Regions from separate parts of the Homo sapiens genome. Here all the other regions are linked to region 1. Evidence: promoter capture Hi-C in human tissues and cell types (Jung and others, 2019). All regions are on one chromosome and are shown on one strand. The core of a region is centred on a gene start or on the middle of the fragment in contact, and the rest is flanking DNA. Distances in the headings are between cores, read along the strand shown.

Region 1 (7,208 bases), core at 2,532-5,031:
ATCGGTGGAAAAAATCTAGGAGAGAGAGAGAACATCTGGGAGCGAGGGGAGAATTTCAGAGGTGATAACCCTGAGAGGAGATGGAGGCAGCACACCCAGGGAGTAGTGGTCCTGGCTGGGGACACCGACAGCCTTTGGTAAGAGAAGGGGCCACACACTACCAGAGGGAAGGGCCAGGGCGGTGTCAGAGGTTTTGAGGGTCTGCAGGCAGCCTGGGTTAATCCAGGGGTCAGGAGAGCCAGGTGGGAATTGTCTGCCCAGGTAGAGACAAGATTCACTAACATCTTCCCCATGGGCAGTGGGGTGCATGCTGGCATTTTCATTGTCATTACTTGTTCTGTGACCCTGGACAAGCAAGCCAGGTGACCTTGGGCAGGTGAGCCTGCTGTCACCAGGATGGATGGGCAGCAGGCTGGGGAGGTGGGTCCCCTACAAGCAGAAGAAAATTCCATGCGACACATCCTTTGCTGCCACTAGACGGCGCCAAGAGACCGTTCCGTTCTCACCACGCGCTTCAAACTCCAACCTGCTGGGGTCGAAGCCTCCAGGAACCAGATCTGGTTCAAGCCTCACCCTGAGGCTCATTTGACAAGGAATCAAGACAGAAAGGGGGTGGATCCTGGAATGAGCTTCCTCAGAAAGCGTCCTGCAGCCCTGCGAACCTGTGAAGTCCCAGCCTTGCCCTCCAGCAGCACCCTGACAGCCCCAGAGATGTGGCCAGGAAGGTCTTGATCCACAGTGCACCCCGTGTCCCCACGGCCACCGCCAGCGCCCCTTCCTCGGGGTAAGGCATTAGTTTCACACCCACCAACCAAGTGCACGCTTTGGTCCAGGCCCCGCTGGTGCTGAGAATCCCGAGAAGCTTAGACCTCCCTGCTCTCACAAGTGGGGATGAATGAATGAACGAATGAGCCCAAGATGGAAATTCTTTTTCTTTAAATTTATTATTATTATTATTATTATTATTATTATTATTATTTAGAGACGGGGTCTCACTCTCTTGCACAGGCTGGAGTGCAGTAGTGAGATCACAGCTCACTGCAGCCTCGACCTCCACCTCAACCTTTTGAGTAGCTGGGAACAAGGGTGTGCACCACCACACCTGGCCAAATGTGGAATTTCCAGGGAGTGGAGGGGAGATCCTGGGCACAGAGCCTGAAAGGGCTGGGGCAGCAGGGGTTCCTCTGAGGGGGTTGGTCCTGCCCGAAGGTTGTGAGAGGGAGAGGAAGGATGGTATGAAACTGGGCACCCGACTTGAGACTTGGACTTAAGGAGACATTGTTAAGAGAAGGGTGGGAATGAATGGGATCTCATCATGGATTTCCAATAGGATACAAGCGCCCTACCAGCCACTATCATCCCACATCAACCTAGAACGAATTCTCTCTCCAGCTTGCCCTGCCCCCTGCCCTGCCCAGAGTCTGTCCAAGCAGACTCTACCACAGACAGGAGAAAGCTGAGGCAGCAGAACAAGAGACGGGAGAGGCCAGGTTTGGGTGAGGGGCCCTACCCCCACCAGGGTCAGCTTGGGGTGTGCTGGAGCCAGAGTCCTGTGCCAGGAGGCAGAAGGGGCACCTTGAAAGAAGCTCCCCACACCCTTCAACCCTGGCACAGCCCAGCCAGCCACCCAGGTAATGCACTTAAAGTGCTCAGCACCCAGTCAGCGTTGACCACTCTTCTCGTTATATATTAAATACAACAAACATCTTTCAAGAACAAAAAGCAAGCATGTTTGGTCCATTCATGAATCCTTGTACACTGATTGTTCGGGTTCTTTCAGTTCCCATCCACTTAGAAATAACAAACATGTTTCATTTTGAGCCTATCCTACAGGGCCGCAAATCCGGAGCCTGCAGTTTGTTCTCTTGGCCTGGGGCCAGGTTGCAGATGTTTGAGTCCCTTGGATCCCTGAGTGGCTGCGTCTCCCAGTCTGGTGCTGACTCATGGTGCAGCCAGCATGCAGCCTGCCCATCGGCCAGGTCCCTGCAGGTTTCTGAGTCTCAGATGGTGGATGGCCTATTCAGAGTTCACAGATCTGCACCTAATAGACTTTCCTCTTTGTCCCTCTTTCTACCCCTAAAGTACATGTGAGGGGAAACCCTCTGCATGGTGCCTAGCACGCAGTGAACACTCAGCGTTCGCTGTCAGTGGTGTGTTATTATTATTCATTACCATTAGGATCCTTGCACAAACTCATCGCAGTTGCCTATTTATTTTTTCCAGGAAGATTACTCGGAACTGCTTAGGCACATCACACCAGGGCGGACTGATGGAGAGCAGGAAGATGGGGTATTCATCTGTCCCCTCTTCCACATGCTCCTTAAAGACAAGAATCATCTGATTAGTCTCCGTGTTCCAGCAACCCCCTGGGACCCAGCAACCGGTAATTAGGCAAGGAATAAGCTTATTGTATGTTTCACAGTTTTTCAAAGATGATTTGGGAGAATCAAATCATACCATCATCATTCCACCAATCAGGACTCGGCACTCTGACAGTGCACTTTGATGTTTAAAAAAAACAAAAAAACCAAAAAAAAAAAAAACGCCATTGGCTTCCCTCTCTCCACCCAACTTAAGAAAGAAGTTATGAATGTGAACTTTCAAAGGCCAATTACTACCCCTTAGAAGAACCTACCATCTCTAAACTACAAAGATGGGCAGCCTGGATTCTATTATTTTTATTATTTTACAAAATTCTTAATTTTTAAATACACATAGATATAGGGTCTCGCTAGGTTGACCAGGCTGGTCTTGGAACTTCTGGCCTCAAGCAATCCTCCCATCTCAGCCTCTCAAAATGCTAGGATTACAGGTGTGAGCCACCGCACCCAGCTGGGCAGCCTGGATTCTGGCTCTTATGTAGTCATGGTGTAGGGGAGGAGGTCGTGGTGGGTCCGAACTAGGGGGAAACTTGGTGGGCAGGCAACCCAGCCCCTGCCTTGTACGGACCCAGATACTGAGGCCCACAGAATGACAGTGCCAGCTCTAGGGGGCTGGAGGAGAGCCATTGCTGGAGGTAGCTGTTCTCAGTAGGTCTCCCTCTTGGTCCTCACAGCGTCCTCGGGGACAATGATTTTTGTCATTAGGAACCAGATCCCATCACAGCTTGGCTTTACGTACAGTGAAGGTGTCATTCCTGGCTTAACCTTACACTGCCCCGAAGGCCCCCTCCCCAGCTGTCCGTTTCCAGCCTGGCAATGGGACTCTCTGAGCACGCCCCTCATCTCCTCCCCCTCTGAAAAGTATCCTCAATCTCCCGGTCTATATCTAATAACACATCTGTCGTGCCTATATTTTGGTACCTGATACGTAGTCATTCATTCATTCAATGAGAGAACATTTAATGAGAGGTTAAGGGGCTTAGAACAACGCCGGGCACAGGCTAAGCGCTCACTAAACGTTAGCTCTCGCCAATAACATCACTGATTCACTATAAAGTTTCTCTGGCTGTGTGCTATTCGCTGCGTCCACAGCAGTGAAGAAGACAGACGCAGCCCCTGACCAACCTCGCCAAGCCCGGGCGCCGAGCCAGGACGTTGAGCCAAGTCCCCATCTCCTAGGACTCGCAGTGCGGAGGCTGCGGGCCCCGACCAGCGCCGAGACTACAAGTCCCAGAAGGGCGCGCGGCGACATCGCCGGGCCCGCCCCCCGCGCACGCGCGGCGCCGTGACGCTAAGGCCGCGAGCGAGCGCGGGTGGCTGCGGCGGCTGCGGCCGGCGGGGCGGGGCGGGGCCACCTGGCAGTGGCTGCCTTTAGGGCGGAGCCGGCTCCCGCTCTCCTCAGTCTGCGGTGGGCTAGCGGACGGTCCGGCTTCCGGCGGCCGTTTCTGTCTCTTGCTGGCTGTCTCGCTGAGTCGCGGCCGCCTTCTCATCGCTCCTGGAAGGTCCCGAGCGCGACACCATGTCGGAGCCCGGGGGCGGCGGCGGCGAGGACGGCTCGGCCGGATTGGAAGTGTCGGCCGTGCAGAATGTGGCGGACGTGTCGGTGCTGCAGAAGCACCTGCGCAAGCTGGTGCCGCTGCTGCTGGAGGACGGCGGCGAGGCGCCGGCCGCGCTGGAGGCGGCGCTGGAGGAGAAGAGCGCCCTGGAGCAGATGCGCAAGTTCCTTTCGGACCCGCAGGTCCACACGGTGCTGGTGGAGCGCTCCACGCTCAAAGGTGCGGGGCCGCGGAGGGCAGGGTCGCCAGAGCCAGGCCTCGCGGAATGCAGGGCCTGCCAGGTCCTCCGGGGTCGCAGATGTCCCCGGGATGGGAGGAGCCCGGCAGCTGCAGATGACCCCTGGATGGGCAGAGCCCGGCGGCCGCAGACGTCCCGCCGGCCGGGTCCCCAGGGCCGCAGACGCCCCGCAGAGGCCGGCGCGGCGCCCGGGGCTCGCCCTCGCCACACCCACTGCCCGGCCCGGAGCCCCCAGGGCGCCCCGCTCCTGGTCGCGGGGAGGGGAAAGGGGTCCCCGTCTGCCGTCACCCAAAACAATGGGGTCGCTTTGTCTGCTCGGGCCTCTCAAGATGGCCGAGTTGGGTGGAGACAGCGTCTCCCTGGGCTGAGAGCGGGCGAGGCCGCATCCCTGCCTCCAGTGTCACATGAGCTTTTCGGTTTCGATTTGTGTCCAAGCCAAGTGGCCTTCGGGAGGGATGTGTCGGGGGCAGACCCGCGGAGCTGGGGGCAGCCGGGGTTCTGGTTCGGGAGGAGGTCGGGCGGGTGTCCCAGCCCTGCCTTGTGGGGACCCAGAGGCCGAGGCCCACAGAGCGACGGTGCCAGCCCCGGGCCTGCGAGCATCACTGTTGTAGGTGGATGCTCTCACAGCATCCTTGCTGAACGGGTGTATCCTGATTTTACACCTGAGGAAACTGAGGCTCAGGTTAAGTGATTTCACCCAAGGTCACCAGCTAATCTTAGTCCTGAGACTAGACTCAGTGTCTCAGCTCCCCATCCACTGCTTGTTTTCACTGATCATACCTCATATTTGTTTAATGCTTCGATGATGTTAATGATAACCCTGTAATATTTGAGTCTAATTTTACAGATTAAAAAAAAAAAAAAAGATTCAGGTTAGGCACCTAGTAGGGGGAAGAGGCTAGAGTTAGCGTGTTCCAGCTGTCTCCTCAAATAATGATCGCCCACCAGCAAGGTTACATTCATCTAAGTCTGGGGCTTGCCTGCAGGCAGGCTTTCTCATGGATTCATTACAACCACTTTGTAGCCCATTACAACCACTTTGGGTGTGGCGTGTCCATCTAAGAACCTAAGGATGATGTCCAAGGTTAGCCTCTAGGGATTGGAGATTGTCTAAAAATATTTGCCAACAAGCTTCTTAAAATTTCAAAAAACTGTATGGTTCTCTCAGTGAGAGACCCTGTACTGTCTGCCCCATCCTTAACACACACTGTGTTTCTGATGGTTTGTTTCTTTCAAAGGCTATTCTTACTCAGAAGATGCTTCCCTGTAGCCTTGGTTTCCTGCCAGAGATTAGCAGGGTGTAAAAGAATATTTTTTTCTTATATCCACGTGGAATGTTCAAGGCAAATAAACCATTTGAGCATATTTAGAGTATTAATGTTTTTGAGGGTTGTTTACTGTGATGTTTGGGATTATGTATTCCTAAGTGGAAGCCACAAAAGTTAAAAAAAAAAAATTTATCTACTCTTTTTTTTTTCCAAAAAACATATAGTCATTGTAGAAAATGTACTATACAGCTAAAGTAAAAATCACTGGGAATTGTTTGACCCAGATATAATCACTGTCAGCATTTTTGGTTTATGTCTTTGTGGTCATTTTTCAATGCATATTCGTCATTTTATTAAAATACATTTTAATCTGCATTTTTAAAGTTAATTGTATTTTGAGTAGCTTGACCATTGCTAATCCTTGATATTTTTATTGCATAGTTTATGTATTAGAATCAGTGATTTTATTTTTTTTACCTTGTGTCACTCTTTTTATGAAAAAAAATTTAAGTTTTATACTTTGCTTCTAGAGTGATCACCAGTAATTCGCTTTTTCCAGGCATCTTAAAATTGGACGTTGCTAAAATTATTGGGGTGGGGGGACTATGTTTATGTAGTACAATATCTACTACAAATTCTCTCTGTTGTCTTATGAGTACCTTTTTTTCTTTCAGCAAAACAAATATGCAGGTATCCAAATCTTGGCTCCATAATGACTTGCACTTTTGAAAGTTGACTAAGGAATGAGACTATCTAAAATTGAAATCCTACCTCATTTCTGTATTTATAACAATCCTTGAAGTATTTCTACCAATTCAACCTGTCTATAATTTATTTTTCACTTACAAAAACCTAAGGAAAGATTTTTAAATTAATCCAGTTTTATGATAGATGGTCTGTTTGTCTTATTAGCAGCCTGGCTACACTAGGACACCTTAGATATAAGTAGAGACCCAGGACTTTTGGTAGGAGGGCTTTCTTCTTGGTGGCTTTTATGAGTTAGCTTTGGCATTTGTACATTTAATCAAATATGTGCATCCAGTAGTTAATTACAGTGAAAAGATAGGCATGCATTAATGTAGACAACAGAGCTGAATTATTTAAACTGAATAAAGATCACCAACAATGAAGTCATGTAATTTAATGAACAGTAGAAATTACTTTTATTTATTTTATTCCTTCCACTTTTTTTGTGGAAGTATCCAAACACTTGTAATTGAATATAGAAACATTTTTATGTGAAACTATATATATTTTTTATTTGTTTGTTTGTTTTAGCTACCCCAGCTAGCCATAAACTTTTGTTGTTAAAGTGCAGCATTGAGCTGGGTGCGGTGGCTCACACCTGTAATCCCAGCACTTTGGGAGACCAAGGCAGGAGGATCACTTGAGGCCAGGAGTTCAAGACCAGCCTGGGCAACATAGCAAGACCCTATCTCTACAGAAAATTAAAAAATAAGCCAGGCATGGTGGTGTATGCCAGTAGTTCCAGCTACTTGAGAAAATTGCTTGAGCCCAGGAGTTTGACGCTGTGGTGAACTAGGATCACACCACTTTGCTCCAGCCTGGGTACAGAGTGAGACCCTATCTCTAAAATAAATCAAGTACAGCATTACTCAAAGTATAGAATAAATGTTGTGAATTTAACAACTCATCTTGATACTGAGGAATTGGAGAGTTTGTGGGAAAAAGGGATTAAGTTATAGCTCCTCATTTTAAAAAGAGAAACCTTTGTATAGTTCCTGGCCTGTAGGAAATTGTCTTC
Region 2 (7,239 bases), core at 15-2,514, 150 kb after region 1:
GTGCAGTGGCACGATCTTGGCTCACTGCAAGCTCCGCCTCCCGGGTTCACGCCATTCTCCTGCCTCAGCCTCCCGAGCAGCTCGGACTACAGGTGCCCCCCACCACGCCCGGCTAATTTTTTTCTATTTTTTAGTAGAGATGGGGTTTCACCGTGTTAGCCAGGATGGTCTCGATCTCCTGACCTCGTGATTCACCCGCTTCTGCCTCCCAAAGTGCTAGGATTACAGGCGTGAGCCACTGCGCCCAGCCCAATTTTTTGTATTTTCAGTAGAAATGGGGTTTTGCCACGTTGGCCAGGCTGGTCTCAAACTCCTTACCTCAGGTGATCCACCTGCCTCTGCCTCCCAAAGTGCTGGGATTACAGGCATGAGCCACTGCACCCAGCCAAAGTATTCTGTTTTATAAGGGAAGCAGAGCATAAAAGTTTGGAAAATTTGCAGCCTGGAAATGCACTAGAAAAGAAAATCCCATTTTCTGAGGAGAAATTCAAGCTGGCTGCAGAAATTTGCTTAAGTAACGAGGAGCTGAATGTTAATTTCCCAAGACAATGGGAAAAATGTCTCCTGGGCATATCAGAAGTCTTCACGGCAGCCCCTCCCATCACAGGCTTGGAGGCCTAGAAGGAAAAAATGGTTTTATGGGCCGGGCCCAGGGCCCCCTTGCTCTGTGCAGCCTAGAGACTTGGTGCCCTGAGTCCCAGCCACTCCAGCCATGGCTAAAAGGGGCCAAGGAACAGCTCATTGCTTCACAGGGTGCAAGCCCCAAGCCTTGGCAGTTTCCACATGGTACTGAGCCTGCAGGTGCATGGAAGTCAAGAATTGAGGTTTGGGAACCTCTGCCTAGATTTCCCTTTTCATGTTCCCTAGATACAATGGGGGTACAGGCATTGGGTAAATACACCCCTTCCAAATGGGAGAAACTGGCCCAAAACAAAGCATATCCTTTCACAGCTTCTTGAGAAGGGGCACAAAGAGGGTAAATTGAAACCCTGCATGTCCCACAATATCTTTATTCTAAACTCATACTTGAGTGATATATTGGTTTAGTTATAAGCTGGAATAAATACTTCCTCAGAATTTTGAAGCCATTTCTCAATTGTTCTCTTACATTCAATAAATTTTTACTGAGACTCTAGTACATGCCTGGCACTGCCTCTAGGCACTTGGGATCCATCAATGAACAACAGAGGCAAAGATACATCAAGATAGCATAAAAGAGCTTTTTTTCCTACTTGTGTTATGGTTTTCAGTGGTGGTGTTTACAAGTCAAGCTATTCTGATTACTGATCCCTTTTATATGACATTTCTTCTCTCTGGAAGCTTGTAGGATCTTTTCTATTCCAAGTGTTCTAAAATTTCAAAGTGATGTACCTTGGTATAGATCTATTTTTATCCATTCTGCTGGACACTTGGTGGGCTCATCCCCTCTGTAAACTCATGTTCTTCAGTTCTGGAAATTTTACTTGAAGATTTTGTGGATAATTTCCTCCTACAGTGTTTGGAGTTTGGACCTCTTAGATTCTCTAGGTGGTCTTCTATTATATGCTCTCTCTCTCTTTTTGAGACGGAGTCTCACTCTGTTCCCAGACTGGGGTGCACTGGCACGATCTTGGCTCACTGCAGCCTGTGCCTCCTGGGTTCAAGCAATTCTCCTGCCTCAGCCTCCTGAGCAGCTGGGATTACAGGTGCCCGCCACCACACCCAGCTAATTTTTGTTGTATTTTTAGTAGAGATGGGGTTTCACCATGTTGACCAGGATGGTCTTGATCTCTTGACCTTATGATCTGCCTGTCTCAGCCTCCCAAAGTGCTGGGGTTACGGGCGTGAGCCACCGTGCCTGGCTCTCCCTTTTTTTTTGTTTTAAAAGAGACAGGGTCTTGCTCTGTTGCCTAGCCTGGAGTGCAGTGGTGTGATCATAGTTCACTGTAATCTTGAACTCCTGGGCTCAAGAGATCCTCCCACCTCAGCTTCCTGAGTAGCTGGGACTGGAGGCACACACCACCATGTGCAGCTAAGTTTTAAATTTTTTTGTAGAGATGGAGGTCTCACTATGTTGCCCAAGCTGGTCTTGAGCTCTTGGCCTCAAGGCATCCTCCTGGCTTTACCTCTCAAAGTGCTGGGATTACAGGCGTGAGCCACTGTGCCCAGTTGATTTCAACTTTCTCTTCCAACCCTTCTAGCATTTTAATTTCTGCTGTTAAGTTTTTAATATTCAAGAGGTTTTTTATTTTCCTAAGTTTTTTACAAGAATGCAGACCGTTCTTATTTCATAGATGCAATATCTATTTAAACTACTAATATTAGCACTTGTTGTAAATTCGCATCTCCCTGTACAGCCTGTTTTCTTCAATATTATTTTTTCTGTTCATTTGTGTCATTTGTTTTGTTTGTATTTATTTATTTATTTTTTTGAGATGGAGTCTCACTCTGTTGCCCAGGCTGGAGTGCAGTAGTGCGATCTTGGTTCACTGCGACCTCTGCCTCCCGGGTTCAAGCGATTCTCCTGCCTCAATCTCCCAAGTAGCTGGGACTACAGGTGCCTGCCACCACACCTGGCTAATTCTTGTATTTTTAGTAGAGACACGGTTTCACCATGTTGGCCAGGCTGGTCTCGAACTCCTGACCTCAGGCAATCTGCCCGCCTTGGCCTCCCAAAGTACTGGGATTACAGGTGTGAGCCACCGCGCCCGGCTTGCTTGCTTGCTTGCTTTCTCTCTCTCTCTCTCTTTCTTTCTTTAATTAATTTATTTATTTTTGAGACAGAGTCTCACTACGTCACCCAGGCTGGAGTGAAGTATAGAGTGCAATGTTGTGATCTTGGCTTGCTGTAACCTCCGCCTCCCAGGTTCAAGCAATTCTCCTGCCTCAGCCTCCCGAGTAGCTGGGATTACAGGTGTGGTATGCCCCACCATGCCTGGCTAATTTTTGTATTTTTAGTGGAGACGGGATTTCACCATGTTGGCTAGGCTGGAACTCCTGACCTCAAGTGATCTGCCTGCTTTGGCCTCCCAGAGTGCTGGGATACAAGCGTGAGCCACCGCACCAGGCATACTCATTTATTTTATTTTTTTATTTTTATTTATTTATTTGTTTATTTTGAGACGGAGTCTCGCTCTGTCGCCCAGGCTGGAGTACAGTGGCATGATCTTGACTCACTGCAAGCTCTGGCTCCCAGGTTCACGCCATTCTCCTGCCTCAGCCTCTGGAATAGCTGGGACTACAAGCGCCTGCCACCATGCCCCGCTAATTTTTTCTATTTTTAGTTGAGACGAGGTTTCACCATGTTAGCCAGGATGGTCTCGATCTCCTGACCTCGTGATCTGCCCACCTTGGCCTCCCAAAGTGCAGGGATTACAGGCGTGAGCCACTGCACCCCGCCCCCATTTATTTTATTTATTTATTTTTTGTTACAGAGTCTCACTCTGTCATGCAGAGTCATGATCTCATGTCTCCCAGGCTCAAGAGTCTCATGCCTCAGTCATCCGAGTAGCTGGGACTACAGGCGTGCGCTAGCACACTGGGCTAATTTTTATATTTTTAGTAGAGATGGGGTTCACCATGTTGCATAGGCTGGTCTTGAACTCCTGACCTCAAGTGATCCGCCCACCTCGGCCTCCCAAAGTGCTGAGATTGCTGGGATTACAGGTGTGAGCCACTGCACCTGGCCATGTCATTTATTTTGATCTCTAAGTCACGTTTAGAGGCTTTTCTCAGATGTATGATAATCCTTGGATGTCTGCTTATGACTAAGAGTAGAGGACTAAAAAGCCATTTGGAAGATCTGAGCACATGGTTTACAGGATTTTTAGACTTTGAGATTCACTGCAGGGTATTCTACATGGGCAATTTGTTGGGAAACCTCTTAAACCTATATCCTGGGGATTGTCAGATTCTCCAGAAAAGAGTCTTCTAAAATTTCTGCATGGAGAGTAAAGATTTGGGTGCCAGTGTTTTGAAAGCCCAGTGGAGAGAAAAGGCAGGGGATTATTCCAGCATTCAGTAATCACACACTCACGTAATCCCCATTTTCAAGAGACTACTCTTGCCTTAATTTGGCCTAGTATTCCCTGTATAGAAATTCTTTGTTTTAGGCCGGACCCGGTTGCTGACTGTAATCCCGGCACTTTGGGAGGCTGAGGCGGGCAGATCGCCTGAGGTCAGGAGTTTGGGACCAGCCTGGCCAACATGTTGGAACCTCATCTCTACTAGAACTAAAAAAATTGGCCAGGCATGGTGGCTCACGCCTGTAATCCCAGCACTTTGGGAGGCTGAAGTGGGTGGATCATGAGGTCAGGGGATTTAGACCATCCTGGCTAACACGGTGAAACCCCGTCTCTACTAAAAATACAACAACAACAACAAAATTAGCTGGGTGTAGTGGCGGGCGCCTGTAGTCCCACCTGCTACTCGGGAAGCTGAGGCAGGAGAATGGCGTGAACCCAGAGGGCAGAGCTTGCAGTGAGCCGAGATGGCGCCACTGCACTCCAGCCTGGGCCACAGAGCAAGAAAAAAAAAAAAATTAGCTGGGTGTGGTGGTGCATGCCTGTAGCCCCAGCTACTAGGGAGGCTGAGACAAGAGGATCCCTTGAACCCGGGAGGTAGAGTGAGCCAAAATCATACCACTGTATTCCAGTCTGGGTGACAGAGCAAGATTCCATCTCATAAAACAAACAAACAAACAAACAAACAAAACAACTCTGTGTTTTACTTTTACAAAAAATAAACCTTAGACTTCTGCTAGGATGGGAGAAGGAATCTAGGAATCTAGATTTGCAAGGATTTATGTAAGATAAACTCCAAGAAGTGAGATTGCTGGATTGAAGAGTACGTACATTTTAGATTTTGATTAGTTATTGCCAAATTGTTCTCTGTTGCGCTTGTAACAGTTTTACACCAACAGCAATAATATGCATATTTGTTTCCTAATACCTTGTAAACAGTTATCAAACTTTTTGACTGTGAAAATATTTAGCCAGGTACAGTGGTTCACGCCTGTAATCCCAGTACTGTGGCAGGCTGAGGTGGGATCAGTTGAGCCCAGGAGGTCAAGGCTGCAGTGAGCCATGATTGTGACCCTCCACTCCAGCCTGGGTGACAGAGCAAGACCCTGTCTTAAAAAGAAAAAAAAGAAAAATTTATCTGATTCTAAAAAAAATTTTTTAGAGATGGGGTCTCCCTATGTTGTCTAGGCTAGCCTAGAACTTCTGGGCTCAACTGAAGCTCCTGCCTCAGCCTCCTGAGTGGGTGGGATATAGGCACCTGCCACTGAGCCCAGCTTAACTGTTATTTTAATTTGTATTTTTCTTAAGTTTAAGACCGAGCATCTTTTTTTTTTTTTTGAGATGGAGTCTTGCTCTGTCGCCCAGGCTAGAGTGCAGTGGTGCCATCTCGTCTCACTGCAAGCTCTGCCTCCCGGGTTCACACCATTCTCCTGCCTCAGCCTCCTAAGTAGTTGAGACTACAGGTGCCCGCCACCACGCCCAACTAATTTTTTTTGTATTTTTAGTAGAGACAGGGTTTCAACGTGTTAGCCAGGATGGTCTCGATCTCCTGACCTCGTGATCCACCAACCTTGGCCTCCCAAAGTGCTGGGATTAGAGGCATGAGCCACTGTGCCCGGCCAAGACCGAGCATCTTTTAATGGTGGAGAGAGTTGTGTTTCTGTTTTGTTCCTGTTTGCTCAGATCCTTTGTCCATTAGATTTTTAGCCTTTCTTTTATTGATTTCTAGGAGTCCTTTATTCTTTTTCCAGTTTGTTGTTTGTTGATCTTGCTTATCATGGCAGTGGCCACTGCACCAGCCACAGCGGGGAGGTGCAAGCAGTGGCGGCAGGGGCAGCTGCGGGAGCAGGAATGGTGGCAGTGGGTCCCCTGTGCTCCACGTTCCCGAGGCAGGTGACTGTGCTGCCCCCACCCTTGCATGGTCAGGTGAGACCTGTTCCCAGGCCTGGAGCCTCTGCTGCTCTGGACCCTGGCCCCGTGTCACCACTCTAGCCTACTGCCACTGCGGAGAGGGCATGGGGAGGAGGTAGAGCTGTGCCTGGGGCAGTTCCATGAACCACAGAGCCAGCAGGAGCCAGGGACAAGCTGGACCCTCCCCAACACTCCCTGCCCTCCACAGAACCCACCACCCTGGGCGCTGCCACAATGGGGCTGGGCACAGAGAAGCAGTTGGGCATGGGGTGGGCAGGCAGAAAGGGGCCCATTGAGGACCTGGAGCCCCTGCCCCAGGCTGCCTGCAAGCTCCATGCAGTGGTGGGAGCCCCACCCTCCCAGGTGTAGGATCTGGGCATCTCTGCACTCTGTGCCCTCAGGGCACAGGCTTGGGGGTGTCTGCTTCTGCTGCCTGGCCTCTCCCCACTCCTGGCACCCACTCCGATCTCAGAGTGGCATGGGGGTTGAGCCTGGGCGCTGTCCCAGCCTGGCTGGGTGTGCACCCGCTCAGTGCAGCACTAACATGTCAACCTCCCTCTTTGGACTTTTGGTAATGAGGAGCATGGGAGAGACGCCAAGGGGGGTGCTAAGGGCAGCTCGGCACTGGCCTGCAGGCACCCCTCAGCAGGAACAGCCTGGGTGCCGTGAAAAGTTGTAGGAAGTAGACCGGCTCCAGGGTGGAAAGGGGTGGGTCCCCAGTGAAGCACCACCTTCAGGCCAGGGAGGGCCTGAAGGCTGGGGGCCAGGTTGCCAGTCCCATGGACTGGAGTGGGAATTTGTGGTGCCTTTTCCAGGCCCACTTATGGCCACCCATGGACCAATCAGTGTGCACTTCCTCCCCTCTGAGGCCCATAAAAGCCCAGGACTCAGCCAGAGCAGAGCTGAAGACAGGATGACCAGCTGCAGAGATGAGCTACCCTCCACGCTAGGAGCTAAACACTCCTCGGGATGACCTGCTTAGCAGAGAGGAGCTACCCTCTTTGCTAGGAGCTGAACACCCCCCAGCTGCAGAAAGGAGCTACCTCCTCCAGGTCTCCTCGGGGCGGTTCTACCACTCAATAAAGCTCCTCTTCATCTTGCTCACCCTTCACTTGTCTGCATACCTCATTCTTCTTGTTCACAGGACAAAAACTCAGGACCCACCGAATGGCGAAACTAAAAGAACTGTAACACAAACAGGGTTAAAACATGCCCACTGCTCACCACGTTGCGGGCGAAGAGAAGGAGAGAAGAGCTGTGGCCCTTTGGGAAGCCCAGACCTGGGAGACCTGGGAGCTCCCTGAGCCAGGGTTTTGAGTCTCTCTTT
Region 3 (7,486 bases), core at 2,908-5,407, 230 kb after region 1:
GTGGAGGTTACAGTGAGCTGAAGTCATGCCAGTGCACTGTAGCCTTGGCAACAGAGCGAGACTCTATCTCAAAAAAAAAAAAAAAGAAAAAAATTAGGAGACATTTTGATTAGAGATAAGATGTGGCTGGAATTAATGAATAATGGTAGCTACCCAAATACTTCTGTGTGCTCTGTGCTTTCTGTTATCTGCAGCCTTCACCATTGCCTTGCAGGGGAGGGGTGGGCCTTTGATCTCCTATTAGTGAGAGGAAACTTGCACTTTGCCCAAGGCCACTTGGCTACCAAGAGGGAAGGCAGGATTTGAACTTAGGCTTGCCTGGTCTGGGCTCTTTCTCTCGCTACCAGACTGCCCCTGCCTGGGAAGCCATCTGCCAGGGGCTGATGACCCCATGGGGAAGAGGAATAGCTGGCTTGGGTGGTTACTCCTGCTCCTAAAAAGGTATGTGAGCTCAGAGTGCATGTTGGCAGACACCCCATCCCCCGCCCCCCAGAAGAGGAGGAAATAGGATGGTCACTTATCAGTGGAAATTGAGTTAGAACTCAGTGATTAATGGAAAGAGGACAGGCGAGTGGGAGACGGTTGTGCTTGGACATGAAGGCAGGCACTGGGTGACCTGGCCTTTCTCTATCTGGGGTGGGGCTCCAAAAAGCTCTGGCCCAAGAGTGGAGTCCATAGATTTTTCAGAAATACAATTTTTTTTATGGGCACATAACCTAGCAGTCACTTCTGACTTCTTGGTAATTCTTACTTGGTAAAGGTGACATGTTGCCTGGCTGGACTTCTGCTGTTCCCGTTTGGTCAGTGCCACTGGAAAGGGATTGGGGAGGGAGGAGTGACCTTAGGTGAGAGAGATTCTAAGTGTTCCTTGGGGTCAGCCAGGTCTACTTTTGTGTCTTCTAGACAGTGCCACTCACACTAGTGTTGACAGATCAACTTTAAAAAAATTTTAGTCTATGTGGATTGATACTTTTGTAAAATAAAAAGAATTAATAGGAAAAGAAACTGAAAAAGACATACAGAATATAAACTCTAACTTTTTATCATTACATTCAACAGATATAAAATTTGTCCGTTGCCATAAAAGTTTCTAAACTCTTATTCTCAATGTCTGTACTACAGGCAGTGCATTTGACTGCAGACTAATAAACTAGTCCTGGACTGGTACACTTCAAGAGCAGTGACCTAAGAAGAAAGTTTGTTAAGCAAATTAGTAGAATAAACAGGATATTTTTAGAATATTTACCTGAATTTTTTTTTTTTTTTTGAGACAGAGTCTCGCTCTGTCACCCATACTGGAGTGCAGTGGCACGATCTCGGCTCACTGCAAGCTCCGCCTCCCAGGTTCAAGCGATTCTCCTGTCTCAGCCTCCCGAGTAGCTGGGACTACAGGTGCCCACCACCACGCCCGGCTAATTTTTGTGTTTTAGTAGAGATGGGGTTTCATCATATTGGTCAGGCTGGTCTCAAACTCCTGACCTCAGGTGATCCACCCGCCTCAGCCTCCCAAAGTGCTGGGATTACAGGCGTGAGCCACCGTGCCTTCTGGCCCATTTTACCTGATTTAAGAGTAAAAATAATCTCTTCTCATTTAAAATGCTTCCATCTTTTCAGTAAAGTTCCATATTGGGAGGCAGGGATGTAAAAATATACCAATAACTGAAGCCATTATAGTTGTGAGGGGTCCCTAAGTCTAACTCTAAACTGGTGGCAGTACTTGGAAAAACAGGTGCTTTTACTTCCTCTGTTGTTTCTGAGAAACATTACGTATTTTTTAATTTATATTAGGCTATTTTCTCTGTTAATTTCTGGCCAGCCTTTAAATTGATCTGTGTATTTCAGCGCATAATTTTAGGTATATTCTTTCAGGGGAAAGTTCCCTAAGTGGTTGTTGCTGTCATTTGTCTTGCTATGTCATCTAGCCTGAAGTGCAGTGGTGCAATCCTAGTTAACTGTCACCTTGAATTCCTGGGCTCAAGCAGTCTTCCCACCTCAGCCTCCTGAATAACTGGGACTACAGGCATGCACCACCACACCTAGCTGATTTTTTATTTTTCTTAAGCAAACTAAAAAAAAAAAAAGTCTCAAGAGTTGAATATGCTGATACAGTAATTATGTATAACTTAATTGTTCGTATTTCAAATTGGATTTTTGTTCTCTAGCTGCCAGTTATATCTTATTTTATATTTGTAGGTTTTTTTTTTGTTTTTTTTTTTGTGGCTGTCTTCCTCGTTCTGAGATGAATGGCATGTGGTGTTCTCTCAGGCCAGGATTCTCTTTCCCTGCCATCCGAGCCGCTCAGAAGCTGCCTTCCTCAGACAGCCTGTCCGTGGCCATCGTCCCAGGCCCCGCTGCTCACTCGCAGCACTCGGCTGAGCTGCCTTCAGCCTGCCTTGCTGTACAGCGGCCGCTCCCCTCCACTGGCCGCTTTTCTCCTCGCTCCAGTCAGGACTCCCTTTTGTTTTGTATCATGCTTTGTATTACACTTTTCAAGGCTCTTTCATGTATATATTCTCTTATTTCATCCTCCAGACAATCCCATGAGGTTGGTAGAACAGAGATTCTCATCTCCGTTTTAACTGAGGTGAGGCTGGGAGAGTGTCCGCATGGCATGCACCCTCATTCCTTTGCCCTGGGGCTCCCAGAACTACTTGTTACCGCTCAGGTCCAGACTTCTACATGTGCAAGGTTTTGAGTTTGCTCAAAGACGCCTGTAATTTTGAGGTCCTCTTTTCTACTCATTACTTATATTTGTTATTGGAAAGTCCAACATTAGAATACTTGGTTCGATGTCACAGGCCTCTTTGGAAGAAAGAAATCTTCAGAACCTGAGGGGGCGGTCAGTAGAGAACTAGAGCCGGGAGCCCCAGAGGGCCACACAGCGTGAACTGGGTGTCTTGAGGGACAAGTTCTGCTTCAGGGTTAGTTGTCTCCACTGGAGATTTTCAGACAAGAGTGGGAGGGGGTGGGTTTCCCTTATTTCACCAATAAAAGCCCAGCATATTGGGATGCCACAGGACATTTCTCATGAAGAAAAGAATCCTTCTTGAAAGTGGGGAGGGCACATTGAAAAATCACTTTTCACCCAAGTGAGAAATCATTTGCTTTTGACTCTCTCTCCCCATCCCCTTAATGGTCAAACAGACCTGGGTTCCAAATCCAGCCCTGCCACTTACTTAGGTAGGTATGGTGACGTTGGTCAAGTTATTTAACTTCCCTAAACTTGTTTTCTCATCTGTAAAATGGGTAAAATATTGTCCACTTTGGAGCATTATTGTTAGGATTAAGGACAATGCATGTAAAGTCCTTTGATTATGGCCTCGATAAGTAATGTTCCCCGAAACCTAATCCAGAAGAGGGATTTTGACCCAGGAAGGGAGCCACCTGTATAGAGTGGGCTCCAGCAGTGGTTCTTAGACTTGAGCGGGCATCAGAATCACCTGGAAGCCTCTTTACGACTTGCTGGCCCTACTCCCATAGTTTCTGATTCATTTAGTCTGGGGTGAGGTTTGAGATTTTTGCATTTCTAAGTTCCCACATGCTGCTGCTGCTGCTTCTGGTTTGGGGATTACACTTTGAGAACCACTGGGCTGCAGGTAACTGGCCAGTGGGCATGTAGGTGCTGTAGATACATTTGAAAGCCGAGCTTTTTATGTGGTTACTCTGTTAGACACTGCTTGAAATGCATTTTGAAAATACTGAATTTAATATCTCAAGGATATTTCCTGCTGAAGTCCAGGAGTCTTTGTTACATATATTTGAAGGAGAATAAGTTGTGAAAGTAACAGTTGTAAACATATTATAGATAGTCTAATAATATCTAATTGGCTAAGGTATGTGAAAGTGCTTTTATAAAATGTTAGATGATGTTAAGTCACAACTGAAAAAACATTTTAAATCACTTTGTTTTTAAGATGAAACATCATAATGGAGTATAAAGTAGCATAACTTAGATTTCTCATCTCAATGTGCTGTTTACTGTATGTATTTTTCTCTTTCTCCTCCAGGCTGCTGACTTGAGTAAACCAATAGATAAAAGGATATACAAAGGAACACAGCCTACTTGTCATGACTTCAACCACCTAACAGCCACAGCAGAAAGTGTCTCTCTCCTAGTGGGCTTTTCCGCAGGCCAAGTCCAGCTTATAGACCCAATCAAAAAAGAAACTAGCAAACTTTTTAATGAGGAAGTAAGTAGCACCCTGTCTTAGCTGTTAAGAATCCCTTTAAGAGTTGATACATTCTTACCGAGGGTAGTCGGCCTTATTTTGCACTTCAAGCTAAGCCCATTTTTTATTCGCCCAGCCCTCCTACCTAGTATGCCCAAGTTTAAATGTGGTGGATTAATTTGTTGACCTTACCTGTTCTTCCTTGGGGTGACTGTTTTGTGCATTTTTATGGAGCATGCTCAGGTGTCTATAACAGGTGTTTTAAAACTCTTCTATAATGGAGATAGGGACAGTACTGTAACTCGGTATTTATAATTTAAGTAAGAAAATGTGGAATTCCAAAGTTGGTTCACATCACCAGAACATTTCATGCAGATCAAAGAACTTGATGACATTTCCTTAGGCTGCTTAAATTGTAGCCAAAGCTTTTGTATGTATGTTTGACAGTCATTTGGCTAAGGAGTACTTCACTTGCTCTTGAAAATAGTTACTGTAAACTCATCTTTGACATAGTTGGAAATCCTGGCGCTTAAAGTTTGGTCACATGACATAGCTTTTGCCAGTGTTGTAGTATGTACTGGGGTTTCTAGTATCTTCAATTTCATTCTGGAAAGAGCCTGAGATATCTGAGCTGTCTGTTCAGGAACATGTCAGGACTGTTAAATGTGGCATATAGAAATTGCCAAGTAGATTATATTTTTTAAAGCTGTTGGAGCATCTTTCAGCCTCAAGTATTGCTATTTCATATTTAATATTCTTCCTCGTCTGTTTCAGTATGACTTTTCTACCAAGTGGAAAAGATAAGGTAGGCTTGCTGAGTTAGAAGCCCTGGGTTCCAATCTCTACTTGGGACCTTGCCCCTGAGGCGCAAGGGTCAGGCTATGTGGGACCCCCTCCCTTTTGCATTGTTGCATGGTTTTAACATCATTAACTTGGAACAAAAACACATTATAGAGTATGGTTTTTAAGAAATAATTTTGTTTGGGGAAGAAAATTCAAATTGACAAATGGCAGTTAAAATTTGGATTCTTTTGCAGTTATGGTACTTGCTATTCATGCAAATCAGTATCCACCCAGGGTGCTCCTGTTTGACATTGCCAGTGGATTTGATAAGATCTTATGAACCATGCCATCTCTTCTAGTTTCCTCTGAGTTGACTGGAAACAAAACTTGCCATCTGGACTGACAGATTGTAGAGGAAAAGTATTTAATCCCATTTTCCATTAAAAAAAAGTTAAGCAGAAAATATTTTATTTACCTAGATGTTTTTTTAGTATCATCTGCAGAAGTGATTTCTAAGTAGCTGGATGATTATTTTTTTGGTGCTGAGTTTGGGGAGCAGCGCACAAAATTGGCCTCCTCTGCACTGTTAGCAGAAATTGTGAATTTGGAATCATTGTGGGTTTTTATTGTTTAGGTAGGGGAGAGTGTGATTGGAGGGGGCAGGGATTGGAGCCATGTAAGGGCTGTTAGTAAACAAGACCCGGAGGCAGCCCTGGCCGAGGATGGTACAGAATGCCGCTTAGAGAACAAGAAAGTTTTGTGTGTCGTGGCAGGGGGAGGGCAGGGAGTTGGAGACCACACGTCCCCAGAATCTCAGGGCTCTGGGAGCACTCAGGCTGCATTGGCCAGAACTATCCCTGCCCTGGTGACTGGGAGTTGCAGGCTGGAAGGCAGCTCCTCATTCTTCATGATTTAAGCATGAGTTATCTCATACTCACTTTACATTTTATTTGAGAAATTGCTATTTAGAATGCTAAGACTGTGTGTGGTTTAATGCCAGCTTTGCATTTACAGCTTGAGGCTGAAATCGATTGCCCTTCATAGTAAGGAGATCCTCTGGCCATGTGGATACATTTTTATCAGATTTTGGTCAGAATGTCTAAGAGCAAGGGTCACCGGAGGTTTGTTCCTTAGAGAGTGCCAGGAATGGTGGTGAAGTAGTCATCGTGTCGTGCTTTGCTGTGGTGTGACATTTACAGGTTTCAAGGCACTTTTACCTATGGCCTCTACAGGGAGGGTGGGGAGTTGTTCCCATTTTACAGATGAGGAAATAGTCAAAGAGCACATAAGTGAATTGTCCAGATCAGGTAGCAAGTTGATGATAGAGTTGGAACCAGAAATTAATTCCAGAAACTCATTGGTTACAGGACCCACCATGCATGGTTGCCAGATGAGCTCTTGCCCTTCCGGGAGCTCACAGTTTAGTAAGAATGGACAGAGAGTACTGGGCACGTGTCAGCACAGCGATATGAACAAAATACCAAGGGCTAGCTGCCGCAGGAATTCTTTAGTATGCATTTTAAAGTTTTTTAAAATGTTAAGTTCACTGGGGGAGTTCCAAGAAATGCTTTTAGAAAGTGATGTTTGATGTGGGTCTTAAAGGGTACATAGTCATTAGAGGAGGGTAAGGAAGGCCTTCAAAGCTGGAGGAACAACTAGGCATGTGAAAGAACATCCAGTAACAGCTTGGCCACATCACAGTGTGGGACTTGGAGTGTCAGAGTTCGAAGCTGGAAAGATAAATTGGAACCAGCTTGTCTTATAAAAGCCTTTTCATGTCACGTGAAGCAATTTGGAACTGACACTGGAAGATGTGGGGGAACCTTTGGCCTTTTAATGAAGGGAGTGACAGGATCAAATGTGTTTTTTTAGAACTCTTGTCAGCACTTGTGGAAGGTGGATTGGAATGAAGAAAGACAGAATGAAGGTAGCAAGACCAGTGAGGAGGCTCTAGTAACTGTCCAGGTGAGAGCTGAGGGCTTGAACTAGAGTTGCGGCCATTGTTTCATTCATTCAGGACCTTGACTACCTACCACATGCCCAGCACTGGGTCTGCAGCAGTGGGCAAAACCTGCCCTCCTGTGACCCCTCTCAGGAGGGAAGAGAGGTATAATAGCACCACCCCCGAAACACTGGTGACCACAGATGGTGACACTTTGTGATGTAAGAGGCAAGAGAGCAGGCCCAAGAAAGGGAGAGAATCACAGAGGTCTACTTTATTTATTTATTTATTTATTTATTTATTTATTTATTTATTTATTTATGAGACAGAGTCTTACTCTGTCACCCAGGCTGGAGTGCAGTGGCGCAATCTTGGCTCACTGCAACCTTCACCTCCCAGGTTCAAGCTATTCTTGTGCCTCACCCACCCAAGTACCTGGGATTATAGGCCACCTGACTAATTTTTGTATTTTTAGTAGAGACGGGATTTCACCATGTTGGCCAGGCTAGTCTGGAACTCCTGGCTTCAAGTGATCCACCCACCTCAGCTTCCCAAAGTGCTGGAATTACAGGCGTGAGCCACCACGCCTGGC
Region 4 (7,614 bases), core at 3,495-5,994, 210 kb after region 1:
TCTGCTGCTGCTTGGGTGGCTGCTGGGTTCAGTCACCAGCTTTAGCTTCACCCCTTCATTCATATTTTAATTTTTTTCTTGAACAGACTTATAAGAGTTTGTCAATTAAAATTTTTTTCAAAGAGTCAGCTAGTATCTGCTTTCTGTTTTGTGAATGTCATCTTTATTTCCTTTCTTTAGGTTTACTCTGTTCTTTTTCTAGCTTACTGAATTGAAAACGTGTTCATCCTTTCTTGCTTTTTAATGGTGGCTCAAGGCTGTAACATTCCCTCTAAGTGTTGTTTGAGGAGCTTCTTGTATGTTAGCTGTGTGGGTATAATCATTGTGGTATTAAATAATAGTCTTCAGCATGTCAAGACCTAATTTTTTGTTTCTTTTTCTTTTCTTTTCTTTTTTTTTTTTTTTTTGGAGACAGGGTCTCACTCTGTTGCTCAGGCTGGAGTGCAGTGGTTCGATCACAACTGTCTGCAGCCTTGACCTCCCAGGCTCAGGTGATCCTCCCACCTCAGCCTCCCAAGTAGCTGGGACTACAGGCACGTGCCACCATGCCTAGCTAATTTTTTATTTTTTTTTAGTAGAGACAGGGTTTCATCATATTGCCCAGGCTGGTCTCCAACTCCTGGGCTCAAGCAGTCTGCCTGCCTCGGCCTCCTGAAGTGCTGGGATTACCGGCATGAGCCACTGGACCAGGCCTAGTTTGTTATTTCCATTTTTATTCTCTCCTTAATCTTTGAGTTCTAAGCAAGTGATTTTCTTTTTTTTAAAGACAGGGTCTCACTTGGTCACCCAGGCTGGAGTACAGTGACATCATCACGGCTCACTGCAACCTTCGCCTCTTGGGCTCAAGTGATTCCCCCATCCCCCACCCCCCTTCTCACCCCCAGATTGGACTATAGGCGTGTACCACCACGCCTGGCAGAGACCGGGTTTTGCCGTTGCCCAAGCTGATCTCGAACTCCTGAGCTCAAGCGATCTGCCCGTCTCAGCCTCCCCTAAGCAAGCATTTTTAAGTTTCTATGCTGTTTAATTTTTTTTAACTGATTAATTTATTTGCATTGTGTGGTCATGGAATATGTTTTTATGATATTGGTTGTTTGAGATTTGGTGAGTCTTTCTTTGTAACCTAGTTAAACCATTCCATATCTTTTTAAAAGGATGTATATTCCTTATCTGTTAGGCTGAAGGTGACATATATCTGTGCATGCATGTTTGATGAAGTTTGTAATACTGTTCACATGTCCATATCATTACTATTTTTATGACTGCCCCTCTTATTTATCAGTTTCTGATAGATGTGTTATAAATATCTCATTGTGATTCTGGACTTGACAGTTTCTCTTTGCCAGTTTTGCTTTATATTAAATTCAAAATTGTTAGTCTGTGCATTGTTCTTTGTGTTGGTATACTATACTCTTCATTATCTCTATTTGTTTTTGCCCTAATTTTGTTTTGAGGATTGGACAGTTTATTTTGGTTACTATTTGCATGGAATGTCTTTATATGCCTTACTGTCTTGTCACTCATGAGACTGTCTTTTCCTTTACCTCACTCCCTCCACCTACTTTCACTCTATCACTAATTCCTATTGATTTTCTCTCTGAAGTATATATCTTGACTACATCTGCTTTTGTTTTCACTGCCCTCACTCATCTCACCTGGGCACTGTACAGCCTCTGACTGGTCTCCTGGTCCACTGTTGCTCCCTCTAATCTATTCTCTGGAGAGCAGTCAGTGATCTTTAAAAATGTGAATCGGATTGTCACTCCCAGGCTTGAAAATCTTTCAGTGGTTCCTGTTGCTTTTAGCATGAAAGACTAAATTCCTAACACAGCGTACAAGCCCTGCATGAAACTACCCCTTGCCTACCTTATCAGTCACTCTTCCCTTCATTATATCTTTCTGACTTGCTGGCTTCCTTTTAATTCCTCTCACAAACCTTAACCTTTTTTGACATAGATTCTTCTTCTTATTTATTTATTTATTTGACACAGGGTCTTGCTTTGTCTTCCAGGCTGGAGTGCAGTGCTGCAGTCATAGCCCACCGGTAACCTCAAACTCCTTGGGCTTAAGCTATCCTCCTGCCTTAGCCTTCCAAGTAGCTAGGACTGTGGACATGTGCCGCCACACTCGGCTAATTTTTTTCTTTCTTATTTTTTTAGAGACAAGCTCTCGCCATGTTGCCCAGGCTGGTCTCTAATTCCTGGCCTCAAGCTGTCCTCCTGCCTTGGCCTCCAGAGCACTGGGATAATAGTTGTGAGCCACCGTGCCCAGCCTAGATTCTTCTTAATATACTGTTTCCTTTGCCTGGAATGTGCTTCTATTCCTCACTCTCTGCCCCTTCATCTGTTTAACTCCTACTCCTTGAAATCTTAGCTCATATGTAATTTTGTCCAAGCGTTTTACCCTGACCTTCAGACTAGATCCGGTCTCCCTGTTACCGTCTACCAAGTCGCCTCTCTAATGCATGCCACGGTAGTAATTAAATAAGAAATTGAAATGTAATGTCTCTTTACTCCCTACCCACCAAACTAGATTGCAGACTATTGAGGGCTGATTTTATCTGATTGATTGCTGAACTCCTGTCTATTCTGCATGCTAGCTCAGTGCCTTTGATGCATTATAGGTACTTCATAAATATTTGAATGAATGGATAAATATACAAGGGACTTTGTCATTTACTTATTGACAGTGGGCAGACTGCTATGGTAAGCATATTGTATGCAGTAGGTATTTGGTTAAATATTTTCAATGAACAGTTGTTCGCCTGATCTTTCTCATCTGTGTTTGGTGACATGATATATTTAAAGAACAGCAGGTGGTTATTTGTACCCCTCATTTCTCTCTACTGTATTTCTCTCTTCCCCCCACTTCCCATACATCTCCCATATCTTACCATAGCACTGGTAACAAACAGGTACAGGCATGAAAGAAAGACCTGAGAAATCTGCCTAGTTTAGGAGCTTTTTTAGAAGGCAAGCCTGTTAATCATTCAAATCACTAAATCAATTTGCTGTGTGGGAATTTTTTCTTAATTGGCAGCAGTAAAAAGGAAAAATTTTTCCCCCCAAAGATAAAAATAGAGTAGTTTATTGTAGAAAATTGGAAAACTCAAGGAAGAAAAAAACTCCATATCCCACAGCTGTTAGTAATTTGGTATTTTTACCTGTCAGTCTTTTTTTTTTGGTGTTCAGTTATATATTTTAAGCATAATTTAGGTCCCTAGTACCGAGTATTATGCCTGGCACGGTGTAGGTGCTCAGTAGTTAGAGAATGAACCCAAGTATGTGTTTTTTCAATTTTAAAATGGCTGCAGCTTCCCAGTTTGGTATGTAGATGAGCATTGCTTTTTTTTGATGGTGTTCATAACCTGTTTTAGAGTAGTTGAACTTTATATGAAGGTGTGACTTTTAAAAAATGAGCCCATTAGATCATTGTAAAAAGTTGTTTGGGTTAAATATTTTTGGAGTCACCTGTGAGTTCTTTTTTTCACGATCTACTTCCAGTCCTTTCAGTAGAGCCTGTTGACTCTGCCTCTAAATATATCCAGAATCTGAACACTTCTGCTTCTACCACTACCACCCTAGTTTAAGGAAGCAGCGTCTCTCACTTGGATTATTACAGAGGTCTCCAACTGGCTGCCCACCTCTATCCTTGCCTCTTACAGTCTGTTCTCCTGATGTCAGCCAGAGTGATCGTTTAAACAGTATAGGTCAGATCATATTCTTCGCTGCTTAAAACTTTCTAATGTGTTTCTATAGCGCTTAGAATAAGATCTGAATTGCTTTTGATACAGTGCTTTTCCCCTCCCCGATTCCCCAGTGTGATTTGCTGCCACCTCCTCCTCATTTATTCCATCCATTGCATTCCATGAAGAGCAGCTGCACCCCTCCCCGTCCCACCCGTGGAGCCAATGGTACACGCTCTGCTTAGAATCCTTAGCCCCTCTGCTTAGAATCCCCTCCCCAGTGGCCATGGCGCTGGCTCCCTCACTTCTTCAGGTCTCTGCCCAAATGTGGTTCTGTGAAAGAAGCTTTCTCTTAGCCCTGCCCAGAAAGGCACTGCCATCACCTTTCCACCTCAGTCGTTCCACTCCCCTTTCCTGACTGATTGTTCTTCATGTTCCTTGCTGATGTTCATTTTGTTGCCTGCTTACTGACTAGTCCCACCTAAAATCTACAAGAGGAGGGCTTTATCTGTCTTTGTTGGTGAGATACCAGGATCTAAAATGGTGCCTGAAGCATATAGAATTCAATAAATATTGGATGAATGGATAGTGGATATTCTCAAGTAACTTTTTTTTTTGAGGTGAAGTCTCACTCTTGTCTCCCAGGCTGGAGTGCAATGGCGTAATGCTCACTGCAAGCTCTGCCTCCCGGGTTCAAGTGGTCCTCCTGCCTCAGCCTCCCGAGTAGCTGGGATTACAGGCGCCTGCCACTACACCCGGCTTATTTTTGTATTTTTAGTAGAGACAGGGTTTCACCATGTTGGCCAGGCTGGTCTCGAACTCTTGACCTCAGGTGATCCACCCGACTCGGCCTCCCAAAGTGCTGGGATTACAGGAGTGAGCCACCGCGCCCGGCCTTTCTCAAGTAACTTAGTGAGAAAGTCTGCATTGGGAATTAGGTATTGTGACGTCTCATAGGCCTATTTTATTTTTTAATAGGTAATACGTTCACATGGTTCAAAATTCAAAGAGCATGCAATGAAGTCTCTCACACTTTGCCCTCCAGTGCCACCCTGTCCCCCTCCTCTGAAGTAACCAGTATTAAGTTCTTGTATGTATTTCCAGAGATAGCCAATGTTTTAATACACAAAATTACAGATATAGTTTTCCTCCTTTATAAAAATGCAAACTTTAGCATCTGCACTGTTTTACACCTTGTTTTGATTTGTATACTTCGGAGATTGTTCTTTGTCAATAAAGACATTATTGTGTAAAAGCATCTTTAATGCCTGTACAATATCCCATTGTGTACATTTATCATAATTCTTCTTTTGATGGACATTGATGTTTCTAGTCTTTACACGCTATACTGCAATAAATCACTTTGTACATACATCATTTTGCCTTGTTGCTAGTATATCTGAGGAATAAATTCCTGTGAGGAATTGCTGGGTGAAAAGGATATGTGCATTTGTAATTTTAGAGACATAGTCAAATCGCCTTCTAAAAATTGTACCAATTTTTACTTGTGGCATAGTGTATTGTTATTTTGATCTTTGCTAATTTGACAGATGAAAGATGGTATAACACTAGAGTTTTCTGGTGTTTCTTGTGCTATGAATTAAGCATTGTTTTGTATATTTAAGAGCCATCTGTATTTTCTATGAGTTGTTCATGTCCTGAACCCGCTTTTCTACTAGGATTCTGGTCTTTAAAAAAAAAAAAATTAAGTTGGTAGGAGATCTCTTTTATGATTATTTATTTTTAATTTTTAAATTTTTTTAGAGATGGGATCTCACTGTGTTGCCCAGGCTGGTCTGCGATCGTTCCACCTCAGCCTCTGAGCAGCTGAGACTATAGGCATGCACCACCATGCCCAGCTTTTTATATAAATTAGCCCTTAATCTGTGATCTGAGGGACAGACATTTTGTTCCATTTGTCAGTTGTCTTCTGATTTTGCTCATGGTAGTTTTTTCCTACATAGAAATTTGCTTTTTTTCCCTTTATTTTTCTTCTTCCTCCTCCTTGGGAAATTTCATTTTTGTTTTAATAATTATTATTATTTTTTGACATGGAGTCTAGCTCTGTCACCCAGGCTAGAGTGCAGTGGCGCGATCTCAGCTCACTGCAACCTCTGTCTCCCAGCAATTCTGTCTCAGGCTCCTGAGTAGCTGGGATTACAGGCATGCGCCACCATGCCTGGCTAATTTTTGTATTTTTAGTAGTGACGGTGTTTCACCATGTTGGTCAGGCTGGTCTCAAACTCCTGACCTTGTGATCTGCCTGCCTTGGCCTCCCAAAGTGCTGGAATTACAGGTGCAAGCCACTGCGCCTGGCCTCTCTCTTTTTTTTTTTTTTTTTTTTTTTTAGGAGACAGGGTCTTGCTCTGTTACCCAAGCTGGAGTACAGTAGTATAATCATAGCTCATTGTGACCTCAAGCTCTTTGGCTCAAGGGATTCTCCCACCTCAGTCTGGTGAGTAGCTGGGACTACAGGCATGAGCCACACTGTTGGCCTCTTCTTGTACCTCTGAGGTTTCATTTCTTACATATGATTTCTTTTTGATACTGCTGAGATTTATTCTGGTATAAATTGTGAGGTGAGATTTCACCCCATGTTTTAAAAAACAATTTTAGGATTTCTTGATCTTTTATGTCTTGTCTGGAGAGTAATTTGTCAGCTGTTTTCTGCTAAACTGTGAGTGGTGTAAGACCAGTTAGCTATGCCCTGTGTACTTTTCAGTTTAAGACATAGTTGCCTGTATCTTCCCAAAGATCTTATCTTTCGTTGACTTAAAAATAACGGTGGAAATACAGCCTATTGGGGAGTATTGTGTTAAAACAAATTTTATAGAATTTTCAGTTGGTAAAGATTGATAAGATTAGTAATAATAGGTAATTATGCATTATATTTAAGGAATATGTTTAGTACATTATATAATGCTAACGAAATAGGGATTTTTCTGTTTTTTATTTTTGTTTTTTTGTTTGTTTTCCTTTTTTTTTTTTAATTTTTATTTTTATTGATCATTCTTGGGTGTTTCTCACAGAGAGGGATTTGGCAGGGTCATATGTGGAGGGAAGGTCAGCAGATAAACAAGTGAACAAAGGTCTCTGGTTTTCCTAGGCAGAGGACCCTGAGGCCTTCCGCAGTGTTTGTGTCCCTGGGTACTTGAGATTAGGGAGTGGTGATGACTCTTAACGAGCATGCTGCCTTCAAGCATCTGTTTAACAAAGCACATCTTGCACCACCCTTAATCCATTTAACCCTGAGTGGACACAGCACATGTTTCAGAGAGCACAGGGTTGGGGGGTAAGGTCACAGATCAACAGGATCCCAAGGCAGAAGAATTTTTCTTAGTACAGAACAAAATGAAAAGTCTCCCATGTCTGCTTCTTTCCACACAGACACAGCAACCATCCGATTTCTCAATCTTTTCCCCACCTTTCCCCGCTTTCTATTCCACAAAACCACCATTGTCATCATGGCCCGTTCTCAATGAGCTGTTGGGCACACCTCCCAGACGGGGTGGTGGCCGGGCAGAGGGGCTCCTCACTTCCCAGTAGGGGCGGCCGGGCAGAGGCGCCCCTCACCTCCCGGACGGGGCGGCTGGCCGGGCGGGGGGCTGACCCCCCACCTCCCTCCCGGACGGGGCGGCTGGCCGGGCAGAGGGGCTCCTCACTTCCCAGTAGGGGCGGCCTGGCAGAGGCGCCCCTCACCTCCCGGACGGGGCGGCTGGCCGGGCAGGGGGCTGACCCCCCCACCTCCCTCCCGGACGGGGCGGCTGGCCTGGCGGGGGCTGACCCCCACCTCCCTCCCGGACGGGGCGGCTGCCGGGCGGAGACGCTCCTCACTTCCCAGACGGGGTGGCTGCTGGGCGGAGGGGCTCCTCACTTCTCAGACGGGGCGGCTGCCGGGCGGAGGGTCTCCTCACTTCTCAGACGGGGCG

The links. The method cuts DNA at HindIII sites, captures the fragments that hold promoters and counts their contacts. A contact is called where the count stands out against the background at its distance.
Region 2: a fragment that was not itself captured here is called in contact with the fragment with the promoter of DYNC1H1 in region 1 in 1 of the 25 tissues and cell types used here (IMR-90 fibroblasts).
Region 3: a fragment that was not itself captured here is called in contact with the fragment with the promoter of DYNC1H1 in region 1 in 1 of the 25 tissues and cell types used here (dorsolateral prefrontal cortex).
Region 4: a contact is called between a fragment that was not itself captured here and the fragment with the promoter of DYNC1H1 in region 1, in 1 of the 25 tissues and cell types used here (hippocampus).

The regions. Positions count from the first base shown.
Region 1 is chr14:101,960,792-101,967,999 of GRCh38, forward strand. DYNC1H1 (dynein cytoplasmic 1 heavy chain 1) reads left to right here and starts at 3,782. Exons shown (of 78, transcript NM_001376.5): 1 at 3,782-4,156. The coding sequence starts at 3,901. RefSeq lists silencers at 494-670, 3,615-3,774, 4,265-4,474 and enhancers at 593-652, 3,335-3,474, 3,519-4,129, 4,130-4,739. The HindIII fragment of the contact is 2,222 bases long and covers 1,633-3,854 here.
Region 2 is chr14:102,110,631-102,117,869 of GRCh38, forward strand. It overlaps a transcript of HSP90AA1 not described here. Among named protein-coding and RNA genes, the nearest start is that of WDR20, 26 kb to the right of the region's middle. The HindIII fragment of the contact is 6,059 bases long and covers 1-4,294 here.
Region 3 is chr14:102,190,931-102,198,416 of GRCh38, forward strand. It overlaps WDR20 (WD repeat domain 20), which reads left to right. Exons shown (of 3, transcript NM_144574.4): 2 at 4,008-4,190. Among named protein-coding and RNA genes, the nearest start is that of WDR20, 55 kb to the left of the region's middle. The HindIII fragment of the contact is 6,324 bases long and covers 996-7,319 here.
Region 4 is chr14:102,165,247-102,172,860 of GRCh38, forward strand. All of the region lies in intron 1 of WDR20 (WD repeat domain 20), which reads left to right. Among named protein-coding and RNA genes, the nearest start is that of WDR20, 29 kb to the left of the region's middle. RefSeq lists an enhancer at 6,582-7,567. The HindIII fragment of the contact is 6,952 bases long and covers 1,269-7,614 here.